Regions from separate parts of the Homo sapiens genome. Here regions 2, 3 and 4 are each linked to region 1. Evidence: promoter capture Hi-C in 16 types of primary human blood cells and fetal thymus (Javierre and others, 2016). All regions are on one chromosome and are shown on one strand. Each heading gives the region's core, a stretch centred on a gene start or on the middle of the fragment in contact. The rest is flanking DNA. Distances are from core to core; before and after follow the strand shown.

What was found. Contacts are between HindIII fragments. The CHiCAGO score rates a contact against its expected background, and 5 or more counts as called.
Region 2: a contact is called between a fragment that was not itself captured here and the fragment with the promoter of POU3F3 in region 1, in 1 of 17 cell types (total B cells). The highest score is 6.6, in total B cells.
Region 3: a fragment that was not itself captured here is called in contact with the fragment with the promoter of POU3F3 in region 1 in 3 of 17 cell types (endothelial precursors, naive B cells and M2 macrophages); the score reaches 12.1 in endothelial precursors.
Region 4: a contact is called between a fragment that was not itself captured here and the fragment with the promoter of POU3F3 in region 1, in 1 of 17 cell types (naive B cells). The highest score is 6.8, in naive B cells.

The regions. Positions count from the first base shown.
Region 1 is chr2:104,851,643-104,857,485 of GRCh38, reverse strand. It overlaps POU3F3 (POU class 3 homeobox 3), which reads right to left and starts at 3,371. Exons shown (of 1, transcript NM_006236.3): 1 at 1-3,371. The coding sequence starts at 1,975. The coding sequence ends at 473. It also overlaps a transcript of PANTR1 not described here. RefSeq lists an enhancer at 3,178-3,767 and a silencer at 4,976-5,025. The HindIII fragment of the contact is 8,766 bases long and covers 1-5,843 here.
Region 2 is chr2:102,830,302-102,836,200 of GRCh38, reverse strand. It overlaps a transcript of TMEM182 not described here. Among named protein-coding and RNA genes, the nearest start is that of LINC01796, 62 kb to the left of the region's middle. The HindIII fragment of the contact is 6,439 bases long and covers 1-5,746 here.
Region 3 is chr2:102,848,763-102,854,320 of GRCh38, reverse strand. No RefSeq gene overlaps it. Among named protein-coding and RNA genes, the nearest start is that of LINC01796, 44 kb to the left of the region's middle. The HindIII fragment of the contact is 1,962 bases long and covers 1,799-3,760 here.
Region 4 is chr2:102,748,487-102,753,916 of GRCh38, reverse strand. It overlaps a transcript of TMEM182 not described here. Among named protein-coding and RNA genes, the nearest start is that of TMEM182, 11 kb to the left of the region's middle. The HindIII fragment of the contact is 1,438 bases long and covers 969-2,406 here.

The DNA.
Region 1 (5,843 bases), core at 2,122-4,621:
TGTAGGTCATCTCAGGGTGGAAAAACCTCACGAGTGCAGTTTTCGTGCGTCAGGCATCTTCACCCTTCTTTAAAAACAAAAACAAAAACGAAACACCACCACAGTATGAACGAGATCTCATGATCGCCCCCTTTTTCTCTTCCGGTTTTGTTTGTTATATATGTATACAAAACAGTCTGGGTGTTTATTATGCTTTTTATTTTTTGGCCCCTCCTTCCTTGGACTGCAAAAATGCCTCCTTGGTCCGTTTCTCCCGCGTTTTCTCCTCCAAGGGCGGGCATGCCTGTCTCTGGGTGGAGGGGAGGGCGGCGGATGGGCCTGGGCTGGAGCCCGGAGCGGCCCAGGTGCAGGGTCGGCGCGGCGGCGGCAGCGGCGGCGGCGGCGGCGGCGGCGGCGGCAGGGGCGGCGGCGGTGCTGACGGCGGCTGCGGAGGCGGCGGCGGCGGCGGCCCTCTTCGCTCTGCGCCCTGGCTTCACTGAACGCTCGTCTGCAGCCCGTGGTGAGGCGGCGGCGTGTCGGCGCTCACGGTGCCCACCTGCGAGTAGACGTCGTCGGGCGTCTGCTGTTGGATCCCGGGCGGCGTCATGCGCTTCTCCTTTTGGCGCCGATTGCAGAACCAGACCCGCACCACCTCCTTCTCGAGCTGCAGGCTGTCGGCCAGGTTGGTGATCTCCTGCGCGGAGGGCTTGGGGCACTTGAGGAAGTGGCTCTCCAGCGCGCCCTTGACGCTCACCTCGATAGAGGTCCGCTTCTTGCGCTTGCGGCCCTGCGCCGCGATCTTGTCGATGCTTGTGGGGCTGCCGGTGCTTGAGTCCGCCTCCTCCAGCCACTTGTTCAGCAGCGGCTTGAGCTTGCACATGTTCTTGAAGCTCAGCTGCAGGGCCTCGAAGCGGCAGATGGTGGTCTGCGAGAACACGTTGCCGTAGAGTGTGCCCAGCGCCAACCCCACGTCGGCCTGCGTGAAGCCCAGCTTGATGCGCCGCTGCTTGAACTGCTTGGCGAACTGCTCCAGGTCGTCCGACGTCGGCGTGTCCTCGTCCGAGTGCGGGTCGTGGCTGTTGAGTCCAGGCCCCGCGCCGCCGCCGCCGCCGCCGTGGTGCGGGGGTCCCTGCGCGTGGTGCGGGTGCGGCGGGTGAGGATGCGCGTGGTGGTGGTGGTGGTGGTGGTGCTCGGCCAGCTCTGGCGTGTCCCCGCGCACCAGCCCCGGGTGCACCAAGCTCTGGGCTCCACCGCCCGCGCCGCCGCCGCCGCCGCCGGGCCCCGGTGGCGCGCTCAGCATGCCGTTCACCGTGAAGCCTCCGGGCTGCGAGTAGAGCAGACTCTGCGGCGGCGGCTGCTGGCCCCCGGCCATGGACGGGAGGTGCGCGGCGGCGGCGGCGGCGGCGGCTGCGGCTGCGGCAGCGGCGGCCGCCCCCCAGCCCCCAGGGTGGCCCTGGTGTGGGGGCGGCGGCGGGGGTCCGAGGTGCGGCGGCCCGCGGTGGTGCAGCGCTGTGCCCGCGTGCAGGTCGTCGCGCCCGGCGCCGCCCTTCACGTCGGGGCCCTGCGGCGGTGGCGGCGGCGGCTGCGGTGGCTGCTGGGGGCTGCCAGCCATGCCCACGGCGCTGCCCGACCACGGCGAGCTCGCCTCCACGGCGGCGGCGGCGGCAGCGGCGGCGGCGGCGGCGGCGTGGGGCAGGGCTGTGACCCACTGGTGCGCGTGGCTCAGCATATGGCCGCCGTTGCTGGCGGCCATGGCCCCCTGCATGAAGTCGCTCTGGACCATCTTGACAGAGGACGGGTCCCCCCGGTAGGCGCCCGAGGTCACGGCGGCGCTGCCCGGCTGCATGCCGCCGCCCCCGCCCCCTGCGCCGCCCCCGCCGCCGCCGCCGCCGCCACCCCCGCCGCCGCCAGCCCCTGCCGCGTCCGAGTGCACAATAGAGCCGGCCGCGAGCAGGCTGTTCCCCGGCAGGTAGGGGTTAGAAGCCGCCGTGGCCATGCCGCTCCGCTCCCGCCACCCCACCGCCGCCACCACCGCCGCCGCCGCCGCAGCAGCAGCCGCGGCCGCCGCCGCCGCCGCCGCCGCCGCGCCCCCCGCCTCCCGCCTCCTCCCCCCCTCCTTCCCCGCCCCCGCCCCGGGCCCCCGCCGGCCCCGCCGCCTTCGCCGCCTCCTCCTCCGCCGCCGCCTCCGCCCCCGCCGCCGCCGCCGCCGCCGCGGCCCCCGGCTGCAGCTGCAAGGCCGCTCGGCAGGGCGCGGGGGTCGCCGGCCGGCCTTGGTCACCAGCAGCAGCAGCAGCCGCAGGAGCAGCGCTCTGGGGAGGGGGGCTCGCTTCTCGGGGTGCGCTCCGTGGCCACCCCCTTCAGGGGGGGTCGTGGCCGCCCCCCAGCCCCGGCGCGCTGGGCTCGCTCCAGCGGGGCTCGCCGGGCGGGGCGGGGACCTGCACTCGGGGCGCTCTCCCGGGACGCGCGGGCTCCCGCTCCTCCTCCTGTCCTCGGGCGAGCCCGGACTCTGCCCGGTCGCGGGGCTCCGTCCACCTGCTAAGTGAAGGTTTCACGGGAGATAACAAAGAAAGAAGCTGCTCCTTTCTTCCTTAGCCAAATTACGGATGACCAGCAACCGGCCCGCTCCTTCTCTTGTCCGCTCTCTCCTCTCCTCTCCTCTCCTCCTCAGGAACACATTTCACTCGTTTTCCCTTAGAGTAGTAAAACTTTTTCGTCCTTGAAGGCGTGGTGCTGCTGGCTGCTCGCGAGTGCGGAGAGGGGAGGCTGGCTCCTGCTCTCCCCCTCTGGTCCTCTCGTTTCAAGTTTTGTTCTGTCCTAGGAAAACTTCTTGCGATGGTGCATTTCTCTGAAGTTGCTATTGCCGGAGCTCTTGGTTGCCTCTGAAACAAGAGTCCTTTTTCATTCTCCTCGCAACAGTCACAGTCTGATGCGACATCTTTCCTTTTGGGCAGAAATTAGGAAACAAATATAACAAGGAAAAAATTGAACAGGAAAAAAAATGATGTCGAATCGCTCTGTTACCTTGTTGCTGACGGTTGGGGTTGGTGTTTTATTTTTTTCCCAGCAGTTGTCTGGAGAAGGAGGAGGAAGAAGAGTGCATTGGTGGAGGTGGAGGTGTGTGTGTGCATATAGGGGATCGATCCTTGATACACAACAACTCCAGTGGGCACGCTGCACGGCTCGTAGAGTGCACCGACGGCGGGCGCTGGCGCTGGCCGTGCTGGAGCAGAGTTGCAGCAGGAGCTCGCTCTGCGCCCTCGTTCGCGCTCTCTTTCCCTCTCTCACTTTTCCTCTCCCTCCCTCTCTCTCTCTCCCTCTCTCGGGCGCCCGCTCTCGCTCCGATCTGACAGTTCGCTCTCTGTCCCTCCCTCTCAGAGCGGGGACTGTCGAATGTTTACCCTCCGCCGCGAGCGCGCACCCACCACCACACTTTCCCAAATACAAGGAAGTCGAGCACCAGGGCCCCCGCTGATTGGCTACCCGCTGGGTGATTGGCAGGCTCGGAATGACTGGCTCAGGACGCGAGGCCCCCCTTCCGGCCGTTCCGATTGGTTGCTTTTTAATTTAGGCAGAGCGTCGTAGAAGCTGGAAATCTGTCGTCCTCCAGCCTCCCTCCCCCTCACCACTTTCCCCTCCCCGCCCCTCCCCCGCCGCCCCCTCCGCCACATCTTAACTCTTAGTGTCCGGCCCAGACGTTGGCGTTCCCTCGGCGGCTCTGGGCGTTCGCAATAGGTCTGGGCGGGGGGAAGAAAGGGGAGATAAAAGGGAGGGAGGGACGAGAGGGGGGAAGAGAATCAGAAGGAAAACGAAGGGGGAAACATGAAAAATAGCAACCTGCCCACCCCACCTAGTACGCGTCGGGTTGCTCACCCCCTTACCCCCGCCCCGCCAGAGATTTGTAAAGCGCGCGGCACGGATGTACCATTCAAGCTAATACCTATAGACAGATGTGTCCCCAGTGGTTTCAAAGTTTCCTCTTCCCTTCACCAGCCGGCCCCCTTCTCTGATCGGCGGGGGTGGGAAGCGGGGGCTCGCATCGCCAAGAGCTCTGGTCGTGGCCACGCTCCTTGGAAATCCGCCACCGCAACTTTCCGCAGCCGTTGCGCGCCGGCGGCAGCCCCCTTTGTTTAAGTTCTCGGATGCCATCATCTGGGAAACCTGCAGCCCAGGACCAGCGCGGTGCCCGCGCGTGCGAGACGGACCGCTCGCTGCCGCCGCTCCCTGGCTCCTCCACCCCCTCTCTCCCTCCTTCGCTCTCCCTCCCTTCCTCCCTCCTCCCTCCTCTGGGATTCGTGCAAGTAGCGTGCGTGCCCTTGTGAGTTTGGAGGGTGCCGGTCAGCGGAGCCGTGCGATGTATTTGAAAAGCAATCAGTCCGACCTTCCCCCATAGATTCATCGTAAGTGTATTCGACCCCAATGGCTTTAGGAATTCCCTGTGGCAGCAGGAGCCGGGCGAAAGAACCGGGATCGGCTAGCCGCGCCCTTCTCTGCTCCACCGCTTCCTCGTGTGTGTGTGTGTGTGTGTGTGTGTGTGTGTGTGTGATTAGCGGTGGGGGGGTTTGCTCGCTCTCTATTCTTAGGCATGGTGGTGCTTTTTTTTCTTTCCTTTCTGTCTCAGATGGATTTGCGTGGTGGATGGGGCTGGCGGCGACAAATGCTTTCTCAGCTCTAACCCAGCTGAAAGAGTTAAGGGGGATGGGAGGGGGAGTGCACCCGGTAGGCGAGAGAAGCGGGGGTGGGGTGGGGTGGGGTGGGGGGACGCGGCCAAGCGGAAACGCTGCACAGAGGAACCTCAGCGAACCAAGAAAAAAGAGAAAGTGGCAACGAAAACAAGGGCAAATTGAGCCCTCCTCGGGGATTTCCAATGAACTAACCCAACTCGGACATTCAATAAATACATGGCTCTTAATGAGCGTGCGTGTGCGTGCACCCCGCACCCCTAGCTGCGGGTGCGCCCGCTTGCGCCCGCCGCCCCCAGCCAGAGCCTGCATCTGGCAGTCCCGAGCCCGAGCGGCAGCCCAGGACGCAGCCGAGGAGCGGCCGCCGGTGCGCTCCGATTAAAATGTGAACGGGCCTGCCCTTCTCTCCCGCTGTATCGTGCCTCTGCCGAGCGCAGTTAAGTGAACTCAGTGAAAGCAGGAGTTCTCCTGCCCAGCCGCAGCCAGGCAGCCCCCGCGTGATCTCAAGATTAACACTAGACGCGTAGAATTTATGTAGGCTCTTGTCCAGCTCCTGCTTGCCGGGTGAGATACCATCGTAGGTAGGTTTTAGCAAAGCCATTATTGCCAAGGTATAGATACCAAAGGCGGTGGTAACCAAACCCCAAACAGAACGGATTTTTTTCCTCTGCGGCCCCCAAAGGTTGCTTTTTATATTTACGTATGCGTATATGTATATATAAAAGATGGAACACAGATTTCATTGAATCAATCTGAGATCTCCAGGTGCAGACGTTTGAATAGTCGGTGCCAGCACCCCGTGTTTTCCTTTCCTGCCGATTTTGCTTGGATCCGGCTCAAAAACCGAGAGAGTCTCGTGGTTTTGTTTACACTGAATGGGGAGGATAGGAACAGAGCCATGGGGCCGCCTTTCATTAATATACAGTGAGGATTTTGTCTAAATTACTGCTATGAATTTCACAGTACACGCTTTCAAAAGCAGTCTCAGGTGGCCTGATGAAACGTGATAGCGCCTCTGCAAACAGATCCACTTTCTTTCTTTTCAAGAGGGTGTGTGTGCGCGTATGGGAAGCCCCCCAAAACGTTGTGCTCCTCGATAACAGAAACACACTTCTGTTCCGAGGTCTGTCCCCTTCTTCCTCCCCCCCTTTCGTCGTACTTAATTCTCGAATCGCTCCCCGGCCT
Region 2 (5,899 bases), core at 1,278-3,777, 2.0 Mb after region 1:
TGGATGTCTATTGCAGCTGTATTCATAATTGCCGAAACTTAGAAACAGCCAAGATATCCTTCACGGGGCAAAGAGAACTGTGGTACCTCCAAACAATGGAATATTATTCAGTGCTAAAAAGACATGAGCTATCAAGCCATGACAAGAAATGGAGGAACCTTCAATGCATATTACCAAGTGAAATAACCCAATCTGAATGGACTACATACTGTATGATTCCAACTATAGAACATTCTGTCCTTGAGAAACCAAACACCGCATGTTCTCACTCATAGGTGGGAACTGAACAATGAGAACACATGGACACAGGAAGGGGAACATCACACACCGGGGCCTGTTGTGGGGTCGGGGGAGGGGGGAGGGATAGCATTAGGAGATATACCTAATGTAAATGACGAGTTAATGGGTGCAGCACACTAATATGGCACATGTATACATATGTAAGAAACCTGCATGTTGTGCACATGTACCCTAAAACTTAAAGTATAAAAAAATAAAATAAATTAAATAAATTTAAAAAAAGAAAATTCTGAAAGGCACAAAGCTATAAAAATGGTGAAAAGATCCGTGGTTTTCAGGGGTTGGGTGGAATAAACAGATGGAACACAGAGGATTTTTAGGGCAGTGAAACAATTCCGTTTGTACTATAATGGTGGATACATTTGTCCAAACCCAACACCAAGACTGTACAGCACCAAGAGTAAACCCTCAGTAAACTATGGACCTTGGGTGGTTATGATGTGTTATGAAGGCTCATAAATTGTAAGAAATGCACCATTGTGGTGGAGGATGATGGTAACAGAGGAGGCTGTGCCTGCGTGTGGGCAGGGAGCACATGAGAAATTTCTATACCTTCTACTCAATATTGCTGTGAACCTAAAACTACTGTAAAAAATGTCAATTTTAAAAATCGAGTCACGATTATTATTATCTAAAAACCCTTCTACCTTTGGATTCCAATGTTACATGTAGCCAAAATATATTTGTTGAATGAAGTTACCATTTGCCAAGCATTTGTATTATCCTGGCCTCCGGTGGTGAATTTGCAGAGATGTCATAATTCTTCCTGCTGCATTTAGCATTTCTACAGCACTTCTCCCTGATCTTGGGTTTTCTGTGAGCTGTTACAATCACTGAGCCTTTCCCATCCCCGCCCCCCACAATTGCTTTGTGTGCAGCTGATTACTATTATTATCCTTAATTTCCAAAGGAGGAAACAGGCACAATAAGTCCTCATCTAGGAGGTGTTATTTGGGCATAAATAACACCTCAGGTGAAACGGGTGAGGCCCAATTTGCATCCTGGCATTAAATTAGAAATAGACCCCAGGAATATTTTATTCCTAAGGTAACAACCGGCAAGTGGAAAACCCAGAGTGATTAACGAAGGATGCTTGGCTTTTGTAACAGCTTGGTAATAAATCGAGAGTTCAAGTCACCTGCTTATATGCTGGACTGCTCTGGACCTGCAGGAGCCCTGAGCCTGTTTTCCTGGTGTGAAATATGTGGTGAGCCTGACCAGCAGACTAAGTATTCAGAGACCCTGGATCTACAACCCACTCTGCACTGTCACAGCCATATGACCTTGGCAAGTCCTTGAACATTGTTAAGCATCAGTTTTGTTTTGTTTTTCTATTTGTAGCAATAACACTCTCATGGATATGCACACCTCCCAAGGCTCACCTATATCTGTTGAAATGAGACGGTGCATCTGAAAGTGGGTTGGAGACCATGGGGCACTGGCAGACGTTTTTACATTCCACTTCACTTCCATCCCCCCATCTTCTAGATTTCTGTTTACAGCAGAGGATCCCAAGAGAAGATCAGAAGGAAAAAAAAAGGGAAATGTTACAATATACAGAAAAAAACAGACGAGTCCTAAGATGGTAAATGGATGAGGGTTTTTTTCTTTACAGAGACTGTTGTGCATGAAGTTTATCAATGGATAATCCTTCAGCCTTAGAGTTAGGCCCACGGCAAAGTAGGGATGGCTATAGGCAGCCATGTCATTGCCAGAGATATATTTAGACCTATATACCTTTGCGGTCACACTTCGTAGAGCAGGGAAATTAAAAATGCAAGCCCACCCAATGACTGGAAACACTGAATCCTTGCTCAAGATATGTATATACTATTTAACTTATGTATTTATTGAACTCATAATTAACATAAGGTTATCTAGGTTCCATGGCTGACCCAGGTCCCATTTACACAAATGGGATAAGTTACTGACTTAGCAGACCTCATCTTAATCAATAGAATCAATGGTGCCATCACCAGAAATAGGATATGTTAATATTTTATGTCCTCTGATGCAATGCGTTGGGAAGGGCACATGGCCTCTGGTGGTATTCTTTCCCAAAATGTATGGCTCCAATCTATCAAAACATCAGACAAATATAAATGAGACATGCTGGACAAAGTCCTTGACCAGTACTCTTCAAATGTTTCAAGGCCATGAAAGACAAGGAAAAACTGAGACATTGTCACAGATGAGAGGAGAATAAGGAGACATTGCAACTAAATGCATGGTGGGATCCTGGACCTAATTCTGGAACAGAGAAAGGATATTGGAGGAAAGACTAGTGGATTCCTAATGAGGTGTGTAGTTTAGTTCTTGGTATTGTACCAAGGTTAACTTAGTTTTGAGAGTTGAACCATGGTTTCCTGGGATGTTAACCTTGGGGAAAATAAATCAGGGTGTGTGTGTGGGAGCACTCCATTCTCTTTGCAACTCCTCTATACGTCTAAATTTTTTCAAAATTAAAAGTTTAAAAAATAAGCACGATGTTTGACCTGATTTTCTAGTCCCCATGCACAATTCCAGGGAGAAATTAGAACTGCAATTGGATCTGGTGATGGGAGGGGGATGATATCTAAGTTGTCTAAATTGAGGCAAAGGCTCAAAATTAACATGGTTGTTATTCCTGCAAAAAGTCTATCTATGACTGATTTATACCAGACTATGAACAAATAACTGAGAATTAGTTCAATAAGCCCCTGCCAGCAACCCTCTTCTCCCTAACCCACCACTCCTCCTCCAACCTCCCACCTGCCTGAGAAAGGGGAGCTCCTCCCTGAAATCATAGCATGTTCCAATTTTTGTGTAAACCACGGCAAAGGCACTGACTCTTTTCTTTTTGCATTGTTCCCATGAAGTGTGCCATTAGGGGCTCAGAATAATAAAGACTGCTGTCATAATTAAGCTCCGGGATGTATTTCAAAGACTCACAGACATTAGAGATGAGAAAGACCCAGCAGGTCATCCAAGCCTGTCTCCCTGCCAGTGCAGGATGGCTGTGTGCAATTTGGAAGATCTGTTATCAGGCTATAAAAATTCTAAACTATTCAAAAAATTACCACATTGTATAAATTATAATAAAAAGTTTACCTTATTCCTGGGCAATTCTTGAGTGTGTGTGTGGTGGGGGAGAAAGTAAGTCACTGAATAGCTTTCTGAAAACAATTACTGTCCTATTTAGAATATATTTTCCAAGGTGAAAGTATGGTTATTTTCTGCTCAATGTGACAGCCTGCGCTTATTGTTATGCAAGAGTTGTCTCCCTGCATCTGATAATTTAAAATTTAGCACTGACCCCAGCTGTCCCTCAAATGATATTATAAATGTGCTTGCAATAGTTCCAACTTCTTCTGGCTTTTATTTAAGTGCTGGACTTGAGCACAGTTGCATAGGATTCTGCCTCTGGCTCAGACATCCTGGCCCCAGTATCTTCGTTCTTTAAGAATAAAGCCTGGAAGGAAACACTTCAAAGGCCTTCAAAGAATGATACTCAAGGCACTGCACCTTATTAAGCTGAGTGAGGTCTTTTTCGATGAGAATTGTGAAATGACTGTGATGTATGTGTTGATTTACAATCCCAGTAGAAATGAACAAAATAACTATAACAATACCAAAAGTAGGATGTAATTTCAAGGGGAAGAATTTAGAGGAATATTGAGGAGAACTACTTAAATGAAAGAGTTAATTTATAGTCCAGAAATACATCCCTGGAATACATTTGAATTCTGAACAAAATGGCATAGTGGAATAAAGAATGTAGGCGGATAGAATCCAGTGAAATACATGACCACTGTATCCATCAAGAATGGCTATCCGTCTCTCACTCTGTCATGCCAGGTATGGGGATATGAGAGCATGGCAATATGAAATATATCAACATTTCCCACTGTCTTCTTGCGTTTTCTCTACTTGGCATACACAATTCACCTTTACATAATACATATGAAACTGTAAGCCTTGTCCTATGAAAAGAAAGAACATTGTCACAAGGAGAATGCCTAGCTCTTCTTTGCCATCAGTTGGTGGTTGGGTGTCCCAAGTTTGCAATAAGTCATGGTGAAGACCCCCATTAAGAAGCATATCCCAAGACCCAGAAGTTCTGCATCTGGCATCCTTCATCACTCTTCTTTTTCTTTTTTTTTTTTAGACAGAGTCTAGCTCTGTTGCCCAAGCTGGAGTGCAGTGGTGCGATTTCAGCTCACTGCAACCTCCACCTCCCAGGTTTGAGCAATTCTCGTGCCTCAGCCTCCCAAGTAGCTGGGACTACAGGCATGTACCACCGCACTGAGCTAATTTTTGTATTTTTAGTAGAGACTGGGTTTCACCATGTTGGCCAGGCTTGTCTTAAACTCCTAACCTCAGGTGATCTGCCCACCTCAGCCTCCCAAAGTGCTGGGATTACAGGCATGAACCACCATGCCTGGCCCACCACTCTTCTTCTTTTAAGATGACTGCATGTTAACACATCGGTCGTGTATGCAGGGTGGATCCTGTTTACCTTTGTGTATCAAACTTTCATTTGTTAGTTGGTTAAAATGTAGAATACATAACAAATGCTGGCAAGGATTGTGGAGAAAAGGGAACACTTGTCCACTGTCAGTGGGAATGCAAATTAGTACAACGACTAGGGAGAACAGTTTGGAGATTCAGCTACCATATGATCCAGCAATCCCACTGCTGGGTGTATACCCAAATGAACAGAAATCAGTGTAATGAAGAGACATCTGCACTCCTATGTTTGTTGCAGCACTGTTCACAGTAGCTAAGATTTAGAAGCAACCTAAGTGTCCATCAACAGATGAGCAGATAAAGAAAAGGTGGACATACACACAATGGAGTACTCTTCAGCCATAAAAAAGAATAAGATCCAGTCATTTCCAATAACATGGATGGAACTGGATCATTATGTTAAGTGAAATAAGCCAGGCACAGAAAGACAAACATCACGTGTTCTCACTTATTTGTGGGATTTAAATATCAAATCAGTTGAACTCATGGACATAGAGAGTAGAAGGATGATTACCAGAGGCTGGGAAGGGTAGTGGAAGGGTAGTGGGAGGGTGGAGGTGAGGATGGTTAATGGGTATGAAAAAAAATAGTTATAAAGAATGAACAAGACCTACTATATGATAGCACAATAGGGTGACTATAATCAATAATAACTTAATTGTATATTTTTCAATAACTTAAACAGTGTAACTGGATTATTTGTACCTCAAAGGATAAAATGCTTGAGGGGAGGGACACCCCATTCTCCATGATATGCTCTTTTCACATTGCATGCCAGTATCAGAACATCTCATGTACCCCATAAATATATATACCTACTGTGTACCCACAGAAATAAATACATAAATAAATACATAAATACATAAATAAAATCCAGAGCCAAAAAAAAAGCACTTGGAATTCAGTTTTTCAAAGTCCCAGTGTTGTAAATAAAGCTTACTTCCCATGTTAGCCCACAAAATTCATGATTAGAGCTAGGATCATGGCCTTGACCATATCTATACACAGAACCCTTAAAACCCAAGTGCTGAAAGCCCCATGACTTCACACAGCTATCAATGCCTGATGCCAGCAATTCAACTCTTCACTC
Region 3 (5,558 bases), core at 1,530-4,029, 2.0 Mb after region 1:
CCAAGACCATGGGACACCACCTCTTGCATCAGCATGACCTGGATGTGAGACATGGAGACAATGGAGATCATTTTGGAATTTTAAGATTTGACTGCCCTGCTGGACTTTGGACTTGCATGGGGCCTGTAGCCCCTTTGTTTTGGCCAGTTTGTCCCATTTGGAACAGCTGTATTTACCCAATGCCTGTACCTCCATTATATCAAGAAAGTAACTAACTTGCTTTTGATTTTACAGGCTCATAGACAGAAGCAACTTGCCTTGTCTCTGATGAGACTTTGGACTGTGGAGTTTTGAGTTAATGCTGAAATGAGTTGTTAAGACTTTGGGGGACTGTTGGGAAGACATGATTGGTTTTGAAATGTAAGGACATGAGATTTGGGAGGGGCCAGGGGTGGAATGATATGGTCAGGCTGTGTCCTCACCCAAATCTCATCTTCCCATGTGTTGTGGATAGGACCTGATGGGAAGTAATTGAATCATGTAGGCAGGTCTTTCCCATGCTGTTCTTGTGATAGTGAATAAGTGTCATGAGATCTGATTTTTTGTTTGTTTGTTTGTGTATTTGAGGCAGAGTCTCACTCTGGTCACCCAGGCTGGGGTGCAATGGCACGATCTTGGCTCACTGCAACTCGCGCCTCTTGGGTTCAAGCAATTCTCCTGCCTCAGCTTCCCAAGTAGCTGGGATTACAGGCACTCACCACCATGCCAAGCTAATTTTTGTATTTTTAGTAGAGACAAGGTTTCACCATGTTGACCAGGCTGGTCTCAAACTCCTGACCTCAGGTGATCCACCCACCTCGGCCTACCAAAGTGTGGGATTACAGGCACCAGCCACTGTGCCCGGCCAATCTGATGGTTTTGAAACAGGGAGTTGCCCTGCACAAGCCCTCTTTCTTTCCCTGCTGCTCTCCATGTGAGACATGACTTGCTCTTCCTTGCCTTCCACCATGATTGTGAGGCTTCCCCAGCCACATGGAACTGTAAGTCCATTAAACCTTTTTAGTAAATTGCCCAGTCTCGGGTATGTCTTTATTGGCAGTGTGAAAACGAACTAATACACTTGCACTCTCCAAAGAGTGGTCTGCAGACAACCCGGTCTGCTAATTGTTATCAGTTCATGAAGAGAAAGGGGCAGAAAAACAGTTGAGAGTCAGTATTTGCAAATCTTCACAGCAACTTGACGTTGCCATGACATCTGTGTATGTGAGCAGTGGACTCCCTTGCATGAACAAGATTTAGGCTGATCTGGGTGTTGCTGAGCCAATGTACTGAGTCACATCACATGTGGCACTGCATGCTGTCAGGCACAAGAGGACACAGTGGGGCAAGGATCTATGAACCAGTGGCAATTTTAAAACCATATTTTTCACAGCAAATAATTTGAGAAGCACTGATCGTTTACCAGGGTCAGTTTATATGCTACTCTGGGTGGGGGCTCTTGTTTTCCTTTATGGAAAAAGCTACCCTCCCAGAGGCTGGTGCTTTGCAGAGTCTTGCTGCCAAGCCTGTAGACCTAGGATCCCATGCACATGCCAACTGCCCTCTGGCAAGATTATATCTATGGAGCTTGGCTTCTCCAGTGACTAACTGGACAGGAAGGAGACACAGCTTGGAAGTGGAGGGAACATCTGAGAGAGGTGGTAGGTAAATTCTTTTTTCTTTCTCTCTCCAGGTCAGCTCCACAGCACCATAACACACCCTCAGATCTGTTTGCCCTCCTTCTGGACTTCATGTTCCTTTTCCCTCACACAAGCTTCCCAGGGCTTGCATACTCCAATAAAGCATTCACATATAAGCTTTTGCCTCAGGTTCTATTTCTAGAGAACCTGAGCCAAGACATGTACTACGTAAAATGAACCTATGAATGACTATTCTAATGCTTTTGACCGGTGCTTCTCAAAGTGTGACCACCAGACCAGTAGTATCAGCATCATTCACAAATTGTTAAAAATGCAATTCTTGGGTCCCACCCAGAACCACTGAATCAGAAACTCTTGGTGTGAGCCCCATAAATCTGTGTTTTAACAAGTTCCAGATGATTCTGTTTTAAGTTTGAGAACTACTGCTTTACACTGACAATGAGAACCGGAAAATGTTCCTTCTTCTTAAAGTGTATCAATCTGCTAAATCTTAGCTCAAGACTGGACCGTTTTGTAGGCAAAATCCATTATGCTAACTTGACAGTATTATAATAGCATATATCTAGTAGCAAAATGTAACATTTTTATCTTAGTGTGAGATCAACCGAAAAAAGAATGTTGCATAGCACATTTGTTATAACTTCTATCTTTTTAAACCAAACTTTCTTTTATATATTTTTTCATAACTTAGACCCATATAGAGGAAACTTAACCCTCTAAATCATTATCCCTGCCTTTTTAGAACGGAAGCATCATTCTGTTGAGTACTTCATTTATTTTCCTCTCATTGCCTCCTTCCTGGTTGATCTACCCTCCAAAATTGCTATCTAAAGTAGTAACTACTTTGTCTCAAATAAAGCATATTAAAAGTAATGTTTAGGCTTCTGTGACATACCTGGAGATCTATAGAGCTCCCCATGGCTGTGGACATCGATGTTTGGAACCAGTACTCTGATCTACAACACAGACTGCAAATTAAAATCACCTGGGGAATTTTAAAAGCCTACTCATACATTTGGCCCAACCCAAAGAAACTGATATAGTTGGTCAGCATGTGAAACCCAGGTACTTAACATCTATTTCAGAAGACTCATACGAGTATTCTAATGTGTAGCCAGGGTTGCAAAACACTTTGAGTCCAACTGTAGCTCATAGAGTGCTTGATTTTTGCTCCTTGACCTCCTAAGCCCTGGGACAAACACACTGACTATTTCAGGTGTTTCTGCCTTTCCAAGACAACTTAAAAGGAAAGCCACCACTACAACCACCTCACAACAGTCATGAAGACTTCTAGTAAAATCACATTCCGCAAGTTGAAGCCAAAAGACAAACCAGAGTCCTTGTAAAATTACTCTCAAACTGAACCTTCAAAGGATATAGACATCTGGGTTTTGTTAAAAAATAGTTTGCAACCTTCCTATGGAATTTTCATTGTCTTAGTCCCTGCTCAAAGTTGCAGTCAGAGAAAACTTCGTCTCCAATCATCCCAGCCCAGGGACTGCAGCCGGCTGCTCTCCAAGGGCAGAAGGCAGGATGGGAAAGGTGTGCACATTGTCACAGAAGGTGAGCTCTCAGAGTCCATGCAGCTCCTCGGTGCAGTCTCGGGGCCAGGCCGGCTCTGGAGGAGCACTGTCAAGACACAGGTACTCCTGAGCCAACACCCAAGATTCCGCACACCAGCTTTTAGCCTTATCCTGTAGAGTGGCTTGTACTGAAATGTTTGTGTTTGATTCTCACTTTCTATTCCCTTAGTGAAGATCCCATTATCTCTAACAGCTGTGTGTCCAGAAAAAACATGAATTTTGTGTAACAGAAAAGAATCCCATACTTGTTTCTCCAAATAGCCTTAGGAAAAACAATTTAATCTCACTTTCTTTATTTATACTATAAAGACTTTGTGCGGAAAGGGGATAGGTACTTTAAGGTGGGAAACTTTTGAAAGAATGAATTAATCTCTATAAAACAGAAGGAAGTTTATAATTATTACTATTTTTTAACAGCCTGGACCAAAAAAATGGAACAAATGTGCCACTAAAATAGTATTTGAAATTTACCATCTCCAGATAAATTCATAAAGGGGAAGAAAACCAAAAAGGTGACACACACTGCTTGTGTAAGCTTGGAAATTGATTTCCAAAGCATCAGAGCTCACTACAAAAGAACTTCACAGTTTAATTAGGATGGCTGAAATCCAGAGTCTATATTTAGGATAAGCTGGAAATTACAGTGTAGAAATGAGAATCATCTAGCAAGAGCCGAAATGGGGAGGGAGGGTGTCTATGGAAAAATCACCACAGCATTTTTCAGCTAACCATAAAATGTCTTAACTTTGTGTTTCTCTGGACACACACTAAATAATCTCTAATGATTTTACCTTTTCAGCTGAGGAATGTGTGTTTTAAATTTGCCTTCATACATGTTACCCACATTCTCAATACCTGTATGATCTGCTTAAGTGCAGATGAATTTGGCATTTAACTCACAACATATCAAGAGAATCTCATTAAAATTCTGAATGTATATAAACATATTTTATACCATTAATATTTTGGCTTCTTATTTTTAAGTGGTTGGCAAAGTACTCATGGCACTATATCATTAATTTCTTAAATATTCCTGTTTTCTTCTCATCATTGATATATCATCAAATAAATTAGTTCATACCCAAAATGTGACAGAAAGAACCATATGATTGATTTTTTTTTTTGAATTTTTACTTCTGGAAATGTTTAAGATGATTTTGTACAAAATATATTGGCTTACAATCTAATAATTTATTAGAGGAATACACGATTATTCATGACCACAATTATGGCTTCTGGATGTTGAATGAGGGTGTTTATCTTCTTCCACTTTTTCTTCTTTATAGTGACCTGGCTCTGAATTTAAATATGCTTGTCAGTAATTTCCCTAAAAGCCGTTTAAATGGTCTAAATAATATACTCAAAATTGTTAAGAAAATAAATCGTTTTAGCAAACTGACCTCATCAGCAAAGATGCTCTAATGCACAATGACTATACAGGCAGAAAGACACAGAGAGAAATAGAATCGCAAGAGTAGAGTTTGAAATTCATTTAAATTAAAGTTACTTGCTTTGGCTGAAGGTTTAATTTTAAATTACAAGGAAGGAAATACTCCAGGTAAAATAGCTCTTACTTAATTTTAACTAACAAATTTCAGATATCCAGCTTAGAGCTTCAGTGTGCACTAGTCACCTACTAGTGAATTAATTTATCCTCATTAATTTTGCAAAAGTACACACGTGGCCCTACTCCATCATTCCAAGGCCAGGCCTCTCATTCAGTGTGATGACTCAAATTTTAAAATGGCAAGAAATTAGCCGAATTCCAGCTCTGAAGACCCAATCTAATTAAGTTGAGTTTCCTTGCTTTTATGTTAATGCTAATTGAACAACGACTATATGACAGGTACAGCAATTCGCTCCTTTAGTCCTTATTACTTAGTGATTGTTGTTGGCATTCTACAAATGAATAAACTGAGGTTAAGTGTGATTTAGTAATTTGGTGCCACAGCCTTAATGTAGACTACACTTCTAAGCAAACATTGTCCCCGTGCTGTGCCGGTCACTGTTTTGATCTCCAAGGAGGCAGTGTCGGAAAGATGTAGATGACTGTTCCAAGACTTTCCTGACATTTGGATGAAAAAATGAGCACTGAAAGTGTCTCAGAGATTGAAGGTTAAAGTAACAGAATTGGTGGTTATCTTTTGTGAGGAAGCAGGAAAGGGGGTCGTGGCTGAAATAACAACTCGGGCTGCCATCAATTTCTATCGAATTGGCTGCTGTATGGAACATTCTGCAAATCTTACTGCTTATTTTAACTCAAATGGAAAACCCTCAGTTTTTCATCCTCAAAAAACTGTCTTATACTTTTAAACCAATGAATCCAAAGCAGAGC
Region 4 (5,430 bases), core at 438-2,937, 2.1 Mb after region 1:
ATAGTACAAGAACAACAAATAAACTATATAGGACAATAAGTGGTTCGGTTTTTGTTTAGTGTTGCATCTCTTACACCTAGCACAATGCTGTAAGGTAGGTGCTCAGTAAAAATTCAGCTATTCATCTTACTGAGCTTAATTAAATTGGTTTGAATACTGCCACCTGCTGGCCATAGGCAAAATTTGCATTCCAACGAACATTACAGTCAGTTGTTGGGAATTTTTATCTATCAAAAATGAAGAACTGGCTGAGCATGGTGGTTTATGTCTGTAATCCAAGCACTTTGGGAGGCTGTGGAAGGAGGATCTTTTGAGCCCAGGAGTTCTAGACCAGCCTGGGCAACATAGCAAGACCCCATCTCAATTTTTTTTTAAAAAATAAAAATACATATAGTAGAACAACGACTTATTAGTTTCACATTATTTGATGCCGAATAGCCTTAACTAAGATGAGTTCATCTAAGCATCTAGACCCCAATGAATAGTTTACACTGAACATGACTACAGCAAGATCCATAAGCTCATTCACCTCATTAATTTAGGCAGTTTATGCTTATTTAAATTGAGAGTCACCTATACAAGTAATTCACACCAAGGGGGCTTTATAACAAAAATACCCTTCCCTCTGCAAAAGGGTTTGCTATGTAGCTCCAGCCTCTATTTCACAAAGGATTCTATTAATACATTTAAGTATAGTAACTCTTGAAGGCAGTGGGGGGGGGAAGCTTAAAACTCATTTGTTAAAATCCTGCCTTCAAATGCAATAAGCACACAGTAAAACATTTCATAAGCAAAACTGGGGACCAAAGAGTGAAATCATTTAATACAGAATTTGGGGAATTTTAGAAATCAAAATGATGTAACTTACAGAGATAGATCTATTTTATAAACAAATATACATTTTAAACTATTGTAATTTCAATTTAATTTCCTCATTCGTTTAGAGTTAAAATAATTCTTTCTAAGCTTGCATATTACATTTCATAAGCCAGAAGCTGTGTGAATGAAAAGGTTCTCCTCTTCTGTCCTTCAGTTATAAAAGTGCTCTGCACATTTCTTTTGTGCAATGACTTGAGTCTTAATTTAGAGAAAGAAAAATTCTGATTTATCTTTGTCTCTGGGGTATGTTACTAGTTCCTTCTTTATCAGGAAACATGTAATGGACTTGCAAACTCCTTTCCAACTGACTTTCCAGACGAGGTGCTTGTAAGAGGCTCTAATGACCCAGCAAGTTCAGGTCATATGGCCCAAAGGAAAGACAACCTAATCAGTGAGAAAGAGAGTGAAATGCAAGGAGACACGTTGCTGTAACCAGAGTGCCACCATGTCTCCAAGAGGAAACAGCCCTTGCTGTTGCATCACTGTAAAATAGTCAGAAGTGGTCCAGGCAGAGGCCACTGTCCCAGGCCTGCTGAAGGTGCTGCCACAGATTCTACATAGACGGCTCCACAGCTCTCTCCTCACGTTCTGCTCAGCCAGGTCCTTTAAATTCTGCTTAATTATTATACATATGTGGTATGGGGTAAGCACTTAAAAATTAGAGCATATCATGATACCCAAATGACACAACAACTAAATAACAAAAATGTCAAAGGTAACAAAGTAACAATGCCCAACACTTAGGTAGCTCTCACACTGTCTCCAGCTCTGTTCTAAGTGCTTGAGGTTTGTCAGCTCTTTTGCTCTCCACAATCATCCACTGCAATAAGCATCAGGATTGCTCTCATTTTATTGATGAGGAAATTGAGACAACTCTGAATCTCTTTATGGCAGGGCTTTTTGCCCTAAGCACTGTCTATGGACTAAATCCTGTCCCTCTAAAATTCGTATGTTGCCCTAATCCCCGTGGGGCTGTATTTGGAGACAGAACCTATAAGTGGGCAATTATGGTTAAATGAGATCAAAAGGGTGGGCTCTGATCTGGCAAGACTAGTATCCTCATAAGAAGAGGCTGGGCACAGTGGCTCACAACTGTCATCCCAGCACTTTGGGAAGCCAGGGTACGAGGATCTCCTGAGGCCAGGAGTTCAAGACCAGCTTGGGCAAGATAATGAAACCCCCATCTCTACAAAAAATTTAAAAACTAGCCAGGCATGGTGGCATGCACCTCTAGCCCTAGATAGTTGGGATGCTAAGGCAGGAGGATCGCTTGAGCCCTCAGGGGTTCAAGGTGACAGTGAGTTCCAGCCTGGGCAACAGAGTGAGACCCTGTCTCTAAAAAGAAAGAAAGAAAAAGGACATAACGATACAGGAGTTAAGAAGAAGTTATGTAGCAGATAGTGAGGGTAGGAAAGTCCTTGGTAAGGTTTTCCTTTTAATGAAAAGCAGCCCCAAAATCATTTTCTTTGCTAACAAAGAGTAGCCTGTAAAATCAAGCTGCAGACATAGAAGGGCAGGCTGGAAGCTTGCATGGAAGAAAGCCAGCAGCTGTGCCAATAGGAAAGGGCCACCTAGGACTATGCATGTTCAAAATGGCGGCTCCATCTTTCCTTCTCCTTTCCAACCACATTTGCAGTAGGCAGCAGATGACACAGCCCAGGCCAAGTGAAAGCTTATTTGCATAATAAGAAAAGGGTGGGGTGGCCAGCTTCCCCGTGCACTATGTAAACGTCATACCTGGTCCACTCAATCTGTGTGCCCTATGCCAATCAGACACCGCCTCCTCAAGCCTGTCTATAAAATCCGGTGAACTCCGTAGTGGGCCGGAAGACCCACTCGGGCAACCCTCTCTCTCACGAGAGAGAGCTATTCTCCTTTCTCTTTCTTGCGCCTATTAAACCTCTGCTCCTAAACTCACTCCTTGTATGTCCATGTCCTTAACTTTCTTGGCATGAGGCAATGAACCTTGGGTACTACCTCAGACAACAACGTGGCTTCAAAACCAGAGAAATCTCTGAGCATGCACAGTGAAGCAGCTAAATGAGGCCACAGCAAGAAGGCGGCTATATGCAACCCAGCAGGGCAGGCCTTACCAGAAACCAACCCTGCTTGCACCCTGATCTGGACTTCCAGCTTTCAGAACTATGAGAAAATGTCTGTTTTTAAGCCACCTAGTCTGTAGTATTTTGTTGTGGCAGTCCTAGCGGACTCATACATCACTGTGAACACAGTGGGTGGGTAAAAAGGACAATCACACCTCACCCAGGTAGGCACAATAAAAAATACATGCAGAGGTTGCCAAACCACTGTTTCCAAACAGGTTGGAAACCACTGTTCTATGCAATCATCACAAAACTGATTTCTGCAGAGTCTGAGAGAGAATGAGCTGAAGTGACACTCATCCCAGTAGCAGACTCCAAATGTGTTCAAGTTCTTATTCATTCACCCATTGAATACCCGGAAAGACCTTCATAAGGTTTTGACTGTCTGACATTTGGAAGAATGCCCTATTATGGCCAATCAGGGAGATGGACAAAAGGAGGAAATAAAAGATGATTCTGGGAAGGTGTACGTTTGCTTTAAGGAAGACTCAGATGGCAGAATTTCCTTAGGACAGAAGCAACATCGGCAAAAAACAGGTATAGGAATAATGGTCCTACTTACAACCATGGGAGGCACATACAAGCTGGTCTATTTCAGTTTTCAAATCTCATACATTATACAATGATAAAGTTCTGGGAAGGTCTAGCAAAACTTCTGTTATGCCACTTTTTTTTAAACACTGAATTTTTAAAATTTGATAGCAGAAATGCTTAATCTGCTTTCACTAGCAGACCAATAAGCAGAAAGCAACTGCATCAGAGTTCAAACCAGAAAATGGAACATTGGGGAAGCGAAAGTGAATCTGTGCAAGTAGCATACTACTTAAGCAAAAAAATGCTTTTTTTTCATTATTGAGGTATTAGGCAGCCATCTTTTCCTGCTTCATTTAAAAAAAAACATTTATTTATTATAAATTAATTAATATGATCGCCAGATAGAAAACTGAAAAATATGCAAAGAAAGAAAACAAAGGGCAATCTTACCACCTAGACGTAATCACCAGAAACATTTTGAAGTATGTTTTTCATTCCTTGTATTATTCATATAAACATACATCTAATTTTTTTTGTACAGGATGGAAGCAAATATTTGTATTTTTTACATAAAAATTATAATTAATTTTGAAATTTTACAGAGGCAGTTTGTGTTTGAAACTTTATATTGTCATACAAAGGGAAAATGATCTTTTCTTGAACAGGATGAAATTAATTCCATGTGAAATATGTACAGGTATATATATTATAAATGCTCTTTTGTACATAATTATGTACTTTTATGATTCCAAATTGTTTCACACCAGATGATTGGTTCAAAGTTTTCTCTAAGGCACCTTTATTAAGATATAACTAATATACCATAAAATTATCCTGATCAAAGTATAGAAGTCAATGATTTTTAGTATATTTACAGAGTTTCGTGGCCATCACCATAATCTAATTTCAGAACGTTTTCATCTTTCCCAGTAAGAAATTGCCTATTTGCAGTCACTCCTCATTCCCAATTCACCCTCAGGTCCGGGCAACCACTAATCTAGCTTCTGTTTCTAGGTATTTGCCTATTCCATGTATTTCATCTAAATGGAATATATAGAGGACACTCAATATGTGGTCTTTTATGATGAGCTTCTTTCAGTTAGCATAATATTTTCCCCAGTTCATTCATGTTGTAGAATGTGTCACTACTTCATTCCTTATTACTATCTGATATTTTACTGTTTTATATGCTACTAATATTATTAGAAATAATATTATATTTTTAAAGCTAAAGTGTTCTTCTACTTTTTAGAAAATAGGTTCAGGATTTTACATTGTAAACCAAAGTGAGATAAGTAAGAATATAAAGTTTTAATTCTTGGAAATATGTCCAATTTTAGGGTACTAAATTTATCTCTTTAAAATGCATTTAAAATGCATAAATCCATTTATTGTGATAAATTCCTCCAGTAATCTTGGATCTGTGTCATACATTATTTATTTTAGAGTTATCCTTGAACTTGCAGACGTCTTGAAATTACATTCTTCTTTTCCAAAGCTCTAAGAGTGGTGGAGAATCAAAGCTTCGATAACTGGAGAAATAATTTAAGATCAATCTTAATGAAAGAGTAAAAAGAGGGCTGGGTTAGAATTTATGTAAATTTTTCTCAGATAATGTCATTTTTATGTTATCAGCTTAATTTGAGAACTCAGAATAAAAAAGAAAAGACAGAGAAAAAGACGAGAAGAAAATACCCTTTTAACTTAGGAGGTCACAACACTTGTAATGCTTCTTTCTTGACATTGCTAATATCTTACATCAGGAAAACTGAGGTGAAATGCAATTAAGGACTCTGTTTTGTTTATTTTAGTCATAGTTAAATCCAGCCTAGACTAAAAAATAGAATTCAAGCAATTAACAAAAGATAACTTTAGTAAAGTGCCCAGCATAGGACCCACCACATTGCAGATAATC